Linked DNA regions of Homo sapiens: region 2 is linked to region 1. The links are contacts of gene promoters, found by promoter capture Hi-C in blood cells and fetal thymus (Javierre and others, 2016). All regions are on one chromosome and are shown on one strand. The core of a region is centred on a gene start or on the middle of the fragment in contact, and the rest is flanking DNA. Distances in the headings are between cores, read along the strand shown. Region 1 holds the start of LINC01148 (long intergenic non-protein coding RNA 1148). Region 2 holds the start of LINC01467 (long intergenic non-protein coding RNA 1467).

Evidence for each region. Contacts are between HindIII fragments. The CHiCAGO score rates a contact against its expected background, and 5 or more counts as called.
Region 2: a fragment that was not itself captured here is called in contact with the fragment with the promoter of LINC01148 in region 1 in 2 of 17 cell types (M2 macrophages and M1 macrophages); the score reaches 10.8 in M2 macrophages.

The regions. Positions count from the first base shown.
Region 1 is chr14:86,903,711-86,908,310 of GRCh38, reverse strand. It overlaps LINC01148 (long intergenic non-protein coding RNA 1148), which reads right to left and starts at 2,533. Exons shown (of 5, transcript NR_038445.1): 1 at 2,262-2,533. The HindIII fragment of the contact is 4,593 bases long and covers 808-4,600 here.
Region 2 is chr14:81,622,274-81,626,886 of GRCh38, reverse strand. It overlaps LINC01467 (long intergenic non-protein coding RNA 1467), which reads left to right and starts at 3,826. Exons shown (of 3, transcript NR_110074.1): 1 at 3,826-4,234. The HindIII fragment of the contact is 1,929 bases long and covers 1,913-3,841 here.

The sequences.
Region 1 (4,600 bases), core at 1,284-3,783:
ATTTTCTGCTCTTTTCTTTATTGCTGCTAACGCATTATATAGGGCCCAGGATACTGCTGTAGTTTAGCTTCCTGTCCCTGTTCTTAACTTTTTTTTCCTCATCACTTGCCATGTTTTATTGGTGAACAAGTATAACAAAATGTGGAATACACATTTCAGTTCTCTGAAGACATTTTCAAGATTTGTCTAATTACTCTCTTTCTTCATAATGGTAAATAAATTATTTATCTTACTGCAAAAGTTCATTTTAATGAGGCATTTAATAGAATATTTTCATAAGACCTGGACACAGTAGCTGTCACAAAAAATAACTGGATAGGAAATAGTGGAAACTAATCTTTCTTCTGCATTTATTTGCATTAAGTACTTACATAGGTGTTATTTAATCTTCAGAACAGCTCTAGGAAGAAGATGTTGTACATAACTTAACACATTAAGAAGAAAATTGAAGAAGTGAAGGAACTTGTCCAATCACATGCATCTAGCCAGTTTCAGCAGTGAGGTTTCTGTCTAGTTTGCTGTGCCTTAAAATGTTTGTGCTCCGTGGTACTTTATGCTGTTCTTTTCTTCTGTAGGAATTAGGGCTTAACCCATTTTTGACTGAGGCAGTTCAAGTTAAATGTGATATGGAGAAATTACCTCTACAGCCATATAAAAAACAGCAGGAAAAAATGCCATTTAGAGGAATCTTTATGGAAAAATGAGAAGCAAACTGCTCCTTTATGAAAGAGAACTTTAAAAATCAATTAAAATGAAAACTAACGCAATTAATTTCCTTTAGGACTTAAAAAAATCAGTGCTAAAGCTTGAAATAAATGGATTCTGTTAAAACCACTGGAAACTAGTTATTGATTCTGTTATTATTATTTATATTCATTGTTGGGATAAATAGAGATATGTCATTGATTATCACTGCCATGAAAACTGAGATTTGAATATACCACAAGAGTTCTCATCTCCTGATTTAAAAGAACTTTTCATATCTGTATCTTTTAAAATATTAAAAATAAATCTTCAATATTTTTGTTCATTTATAAAGCTACATCATAGGTTTTAAGAATATTAATACAAACAAAGGATTTCAATGAAAAATATGACGCATGAGGAAGTTTATTCGGAAAGATGACATTGAGTTTCTAGCCCTTTAATATACATAGGGTTAAACTATAAAAGCGCTGAGATAAATCTTTGCATGTGCTACAAGGTATAATAATTATGACTGGCTTAAACTATAGACTCATTTGATGTGATCAAGTGATGCCCACGTCTTATAATTGAGGGACATTATTTGCCAAAAACCCCTTCTCAACATGTGCTCCATAATGCACCTGAAGTACCTTCATTATCATAACATGACTTTATGTTTAGCATTACCCTCTTTTCTGGAGTCTTCTTTTAAAATGTTGATATTTCAACAATTAGATAACCTCCCTTCTTGACAGGATATTCCTGACCAATATAGGAAGAAAATAAATTATTTTGTTATGAAAGACAGAAGACAACAATAGCAAACTGCATACTCTACCACTGTATTTAGAATCAGTCTCAAATTTAGCTGGACTTCACATTCATGGATTCAGCTTTACAGGTTATGTAATATTTTGAGATATAAATTCACATTGGAAGACTTGTCATGAATAGACCAAGAATCCTTAATTCAAAGCATCATTTAGAAATGTTAATTTTTGTCAATCAATACTAAATAATCTTCTGGGGTTTCCCTCGGTGATATCCTAACACTCAGTGGATGTCATTTTTATTTTATTTTTAATATCAGTATCATCTATATTCCTCTTTTTTTGGTTCTATTCAACAAACTTTTACTGATCACCTACTATAAGCCAGGTTATCTCTAGATACTTGGATTACAAATATAGATATGTTGTTTCTTCCACCTTGAAGAATTTCAATTTTCTAAGAGGGGGCAATCAGGGGACACAAAATTACATAGACTTCCTAAATGACCATACTTTAAGAGTAAGAGGCACAAAACAAACCAACCAACCAACCACCACCAACAACAAAAAACAAAAACAAAAACAAACACCCATAATTTATAAAGGGTATAGTATTTGGGGAGGGGGTGAAATTGACACTAAAACTTTCTGTGTAAACGGAAAAATGTTGTTTTTAAAACTGTTTTAAAATAGTTTCTGTCTCTTTAGAGGTCGATTTATCTTGGGCAAGCAATAAATACTTTTGCTCTCAGAAAACCGCCAAAACTTATTTTCTTATTAGCTGAGTAGAAAACAAGTACTCACCATTGTGGCTATGGAAGACATAAGCAGGCCAAAGGCATCATTCACCTAAGTAGAGACGAGGTGACAGCGTGCTGTCAGTCCTCACAGCCCTCGCTCCCTCTTGGCGCCTCCTCGGCCTTGGCGCCCACTCTGGCCACGCTTGAGGAGCCCTTCAGCCCGCCGCTGCACTGTGGGAGCCCCTTCCTGGGATGGCCGAGACCGGAGCCGGCTCCCTCAGCCTGCAGGGAGGTGTGGAGGGAGAGGCACGGGCGGGAACCGGGGCTGCGTGCTGCGCTTGCGGGCCAGCTAGAGTTCCGGGTGGGCGTGGGCTTGGCGGGCCGCGCACTCGGAGCGGCCAGCCGGCCCTGCCGGCCCCTGGTAGTGAGGGGCTTAGCATCCTGGCCAGCAGCTGTGGAGGGTGCGCCGGTTCCCCCAGCAATGCTGGCCCACCGGCGCTGCGCTCGATTTCTCGCTGGGCCTTAGCTGCTCCCCCGCGGGGCAGGGCTTGGGACCTGTAGCCTGCCATGCCTGAGTCTCCCCGCCCCGACGACGCCGTGGGCTCCTGCGCGGCCTGAGTCTCCCGGACGAACGCCGCCTCCTGCTCCAAGGCGCCTGGTCCCATCAACCGCCCAAGGGCTGAGGAGTGCGGGCGCACGGCGCGGGGCTGGTAAGCACCTCCACCTGGGGCCCCAGTGGGAGATCCACCAGGTGAAGCCAGCTGGGCTCCTGAGTCAAGTGGGGACTTGAGAATCTTTATGTCTAGTTAAGGGATTGTGAATACACCAATTGGCACTCTGTATCTAGCTCAAGGTTTGTAAATGCACCAATCAGCACTTTGTGTCTAGCTGAGGGTTTGTAAATACACCAGTCAGCACTCTGTATCTAGCTAATCTAGTGGGGACGTGGAGAACTTTTGTGTCTAGCTCAGGGATTGTAAATGCACCAATCAGCACCCTGTCAAAACGGACCAATCAGCTCTCTGTAAAACAGACCAATCGGCTCTCTGTAAAATGGACCAATCAGCAGGATGTGGATGAGGCCAGATAAGAGAATAAAAGCAGGCTGCCTGACCTAGCAGTGGCAACCGTTGGGGTCTCCTTCTGCATTGTGGGAGCGTTGTTCTCTCACTCTGCAGTAAATCTTGCTGCTGCTCATTCTTTGGGTCCACACTGCCTTTATGAGCTGGAACACTCACTGCGAAGGTCTGCAGTTTCACTCCTGAAGCCACCGAGACCACAAACCCACCGGGAGAAAGGAACAACTCCAGACGCGCCGTCTTAAGAGTTGTAACACACACTGGGAAGGTGTGCAGCTTCACTCCTGAGCCGGGGAGACCACGAACCCACCAGAAGGAAGAAACTCCGAACACATCCGAACTTCAGAAGGAACAAACTCTGGACACGCCGTCTTTAAGAACTGTAACACTCACCGCAAGGGTGGTGGCTTCACTCTTGAAGTCAGACCAAGAACCAACCAATTCCAGACACAGAGATATGTTTGCCATACAAATTATTGTTCTGCCGGGTAAATGAAGTTGCATGTATCTTTCAATATAAAATAAGTGCAAATTTTATATGCCTGTTTGGGAAAAATAGTACCTTTGTTTGATTTAAAACACTTTTCTTCTGTTTTTAAATTTTAGACTTTTCTAATGGAGTTGTATATAGCTGTTTTTGAGCAGCTGTTTGTAAATGAGAAGCTGTGATGGAAGAATCTTAGGAAAGTGATGAAGGCTGTTCTTTATTTCAACCCTAAAGAGACTATGAAAAGGAACTAGACTGAGCAAACACTAAACTTGGATTATTGTGTTGTGATGTGATTGTGTCCTTTAGGCCAAAGGCGAATACCCCAACAGTATGATTGGGAGTTGGGTTTCTCCTGAAGGGAATGGCATTTCCTACAATCGATAAACCTGGGAAGAGTTCAAAGATGGGACAGGAAATAAGGAATTGAAACACGCGGCCTGGATTTTTAAACTTCATAGGGGACAGACTCTTTTGCTATTATGTCTACTCAAGGTCGAGTAAACACAGGTGTTCACATGATGATGATGCCTTGGTTGCGTGTAAAAAGACTCAGAATTTAAGTAATTCGAGTAACTAATTACTAGGCCATATCAGGAAATGACTGACTTCCAATTGCCAAATGGCTTGTGGTGCCATCATTTGAACAATCCCAGATTGAGTTCCATTAATTGCAATGATAACAGACAAACCACTGTGTTATGCAATTATGAATACAAGGTCATTGTTGTGATGTCTATAAAATGCCTTAATGTGGGGGATAATCTTCTATGTACCACATTGGTGTTGCCAATACATGTTTCTGCCGCAAAACAGACAATAGACCCAGAGATTCTG
Region 2 (4,613 bases), core at 1,628-4,127, 5.3 Mb after region 1:
CACAGGGATTAGAGAAGCGGCTCGCAACTGAGGTCAATTTTATTCCCCACCAGATATTTGGCCATGACTGAAGACATTTTTGGTTGTTGCAACTTGAAGGGAGAGGAGGCTGCCACTGGCATCTAATGAGTAGAGACCAGGGATGCTGCTGAATATCCTAAACACAGGACCATCCCTGTGTTTGGGTTAGAACTACCTAACCCAAATTACTGATTGTGCTAAGATTGAGAAACCCTCCATTAACGATCTCAAACACATAAATAAGTTAAAAGAGGAAAATGCTTGGCCCCGGTGACATGGTCTTGAGGGTCTGTAACAGAGATTACAGAAGTGACCAGATAGATTATGAGCTAAAGCAACTATATTTTTATTCCTTTTCTCTAAAGTTCCCATATCTCAGTGAGACTTTATTTTGCTTCGTAATGTCCAGCAAGACATTATTTTTCAGTCTGTCAGTGAATCCAGCTATTAACGTATTGCTCCAAAAACTACTGCAGTCATTCCTTGGTATCTGAGGGGGATTAGTTTCAGGACCCCAGAAAATACAAAAATCCATGGATGCTCAAGTCACTGATATAAAATGGTGTCATATTTGCGTATAACCTACACATTTCCTGCTATATATTTTAAATCATTTCTAGATTACTTACAATACCTAATGCAATGTAAATGCTATGTAAACAGGCTGTATTGTTTTTCACTTGTATTATTTTTTGTTTTATTATTATTTTTGTTAGTTTTTTGCTGCTGTTGTTGTTGTTTAATATTTTCTTTTTCTTTCTTTCTTCTTTTTTTTCTTGAGACAGAGCTCTGTTGCTCAAGCTGGAGTGCAGCAGCGCAATAACAGCTCACTGCAACCTCTGCCTACCCGGTTCAAGCGATTCTCCTGCCTCAGCCTCTCAAGAAGCTGGGATTACAGGTGTCCACCACCATGCCCAGCTAATTTTTGTATTTTTACTAGAGACAGCGTTTTGCCATGTTGCTTAGGCTGGTCTCAAACTCCTGAGCTCAATCCTCCTGCCTCAGCCTTTCAAAGTGCTGGGATTACAAGCATGAGCCATCGTGCCCTACCGTTTAATAGTTTCCATTCCTGGCTGGTTGAATCCATGGATGCAGAACCCGCAAATACTGAGAGCCCACTGCATTTTACTACAGTCCTAAAATCTAAACTAGGACTTAGGACCCATACTAAAAAGATGTATACACAATATCTGCTTGTCCCCTACACTGTCCTTGTACCAACACCTGGAAAGTCTGGATAGTTGGACAACTACAGTATCACAGGAAATATACTCTTGAAGGTTTTAAACCAGAGCTAGGAAATAAGTAAAGTTAATACAACAGTGCCATCTAGTGAATGACAAGTATCTCAAAAGAGCCTAGATCTCGATTTCTCAAATCTAAGATTCATGCATTTTACTCAGACAAATTCAGTGCAGAATGGGAATGATATTAAACAAAATTGCATTATGTTATCCTCAGCCTTCAGAAGAACCCCTCCATGTGATCTAATGTCACATTTAAGAGGAAATCTTAATGTAGGCCAAGTAAGAAGAAGAAATTAGTAGAAATCCATGATTACCTCTATATTCAAATATTACATAACAAGAATCTAACACTAATTAGTGATAAGATCTGCAGCAGATTTCAATCTCCTGACACTGAGATCAATATCCTCTTGGTGACCCTAAACTGATGGAGCTGTGGCTCAGCCTCACATACCAGGTACACGTCCCAGCTCTGTGCTTAGTGCCTGGGTGACTGAAGACAAGTGAAACTTTTCTGGCCTTCTGTTTCTTCATCTGCCAAATGGTGTGATGATATAATAATACCCATTCATGGGACGTACCATAAACCCTAAAGGAGGCATTCTGGGAAAAGTGAATAACACGTGGTTTAGCATGGTAAAGCTTAGTTCCCTTTTCTAGCTGCTCCTCCTCCTTTATCTGCGTGTTTACCAAACGAGAATGAGACACCTAAGAGTCTGTTTCTTTTAAAAGCTGGCATTCAAATTTTTACTCAATAAATCTGAGTCCCTACTGTGTACCAAACACCATTATAGGTTCAGAGGATGGAAAAGTTTCCACCCTGGTGGAACAACCGTGTAATATGAAGGGATCTTGGAAGAAAATAATATAAAATCAGGGCAAAAAGACTTCAGTCTGAGATATCATGGAGAAGAAACACCTCTCAGAATGGATTTTGAAAAAGGAGGAGGGGGAGATAAACAAATACTGAAATTAAGGAACACACCTGGTATTCTCCTTGGAGACAGAACGGACAGCCACCAGGCTGTTGTCTAATTGAGTCACCTTGCAAAAGAGAGGAGATGAGAGCCTTACTGCAGGAAGAGGGATGTTCACATCCCAAAATGAGTATCCTCTGCCCTTGATTAAGCCCTCCACATCGTTTTCCCCAGCAACCTCTCCCTCACCATTCTAGGGCTGGGGTTCCACTTCAGAATTTCCTCCAAGTTAGCCACGCTGCCAGATGGAAGAACTAAAAATCAGGACCTACCTTTGGCTTTCCCCCTCCTCCTCTCCCATATCGCTCCTGTGAGAGGTGACAGCGTGATGGCGGCCCTCGCAGCCCTGGCTCGCTCTCGGTGCCCCCTTGGCCTCGGCGCCCATTCTGGCCGCACTTGAGGAGCCCTTCAGCCCGCCGCTGCACCGTGGGAGACCTTCTCTGGGCTGGCCGAGGCCGGAGCTGGCTCCCTCGGCTTGTGGGGAGGTGTGGAGGGAGAGGCACGGGCGGGAACCGGGGCTGCGCGTGGCGCTTGCGGGCCAGCTAGAGTTCCGGGTGGGCGTGGGCTTGGCGGCCCCGCACTCGGAGCGGCCGGCCAGCCCTGCCGCCCCGGGCAGTGAGGGGCTTAGCATCCAGGCCAGCAGCTGCGGAGGGTGCGCCCGGTCCCCCAGCAGTGCTGGCCCACCGGCGCTGCGCTCGATTTCTCGCCCGGCCTTAGCTGCCTCCCCGCTGGGCAGGGCTTGGGACCTGCAGCCCGCCATAACTGAGTCTCCCCCGCCCCGCCGTGGGCTCCTGCGCGGCCTGAGCCTCCCGGAGGAGCACCGCCGACCGCCTAAGGGCTGAGGAGTGCGGGCGCACGGCGGGAGACTAGCGGGCAGCTCCACCTGTGGCACTGTGCAAGATCCACTGGGTGAGGCCAGCTGGGCTCCTGAGTCTAGTGGGGACTTGGAAAACCTTTGTGTCTAGCTAAGGGATTGTGAGTGCACCAATCAGCACTCTGTGTCTAGCTCAAGGTTTGTAAACACCAATCAGCACCCTGTGTCTAGTTTGGGGTTTGTGGATGCACCAATGGGCACTCTGTATCTAGCTAATCTGGTGGGGACTTGGAGAATCTTTATGTCTAGCTAAGGGATTGTGAATGCACCAATGGGCACTCTGTGTCTAGCTCAAGGTTTGTAAATGCAACAATGAGCGCTTTGTGTCTAGCTAATCTGGTGGGGACTTGGAGAATCTTTATGTCTAGCTAAGGGGTTGTGAATGCACCAATTGGCACTCTGCATCTAGCTCAAGGTTTGTAAATGCACCAATCAGCACCCTGTGCCTAGCTCAGGGTTTGTAAATACACCAATGGACACTCTGTATCTAGCTAATCTAGTGGGGATGTGGATAACTTTTGTGTCTAGCTCAGGGATTGTGAACACACCAATCGGCACCCTGTCAAAATGGACCAATCAGCTCTCTGTAAAACAGACCAATCGGCTCTCTGTAAAATGGACCAATCAGCAGGATGTGGGTGGGGCCAGATAAGATAATAAAAGCAGGCTGCGTGAGCCAACAGTGGCAACTTGTTCGGGTATCCTTCCCCAGTGTGGAAGCTTTAGTTCTTTTGCTCTTTGCAATGAATCTTGCTGCTGCTCACTCTTTGGGTCCACGCTGCGTTTACACTGTGTTTATGAGCTGTAACACTCACCACAAAGGTCTGCAGCTTCACTCCTGAAGCCAGCAAAGACCACGAACCCACCAGGAAGAAGGAACAACTCCAGACACGCAGCCTTAAGAGCTGTAACACTCACTGCCAAGGTCTTCAGCTTCACTCCTGAGCCAGCCAGACCATGAACCCACCAGAAGGAAAAAACTCGGAACACATCCCAACATCAGAAGGAACAAACTCTGGACATGCCGCCTTTAAGAACTGTAACAACGCAAGGGTCCGCGGCTTTATTCTTGAAGTCAGTAAGACCAAGAACCCAATTCCGGACACGTTTGGACCGTGAGTCCCTTTCTTGGGTTGGCTCAATGTTTTATATGTAAGACAGCAACAGTGTCAGTGTTCTAGTTTATCTGGTTTAAGGTTTATTACCCATCTGAGTGGGCCTGGTCTCCACTGCACTTCACTTTTGCACTTTCCACAGGCAAATCTCAGCAGCCTGCTAAGATCTGCCTGCAAGTGGACGTAAGCTGTAAGCTAGTCCTTTCCAGAGTTACATAATACATTACGTTACTTAAAATCTTAGTTTTTCTCTAAAATTTTGTATTTAAAGCTCTATAATCCCACATGTTGGCTAGATCACAAAAGTTAAACATTTCTTTTTGAAGGGCTTCCTGGGGTACTCAAATCCCCAAAAAGAATTAGGAATTTCCGATATACC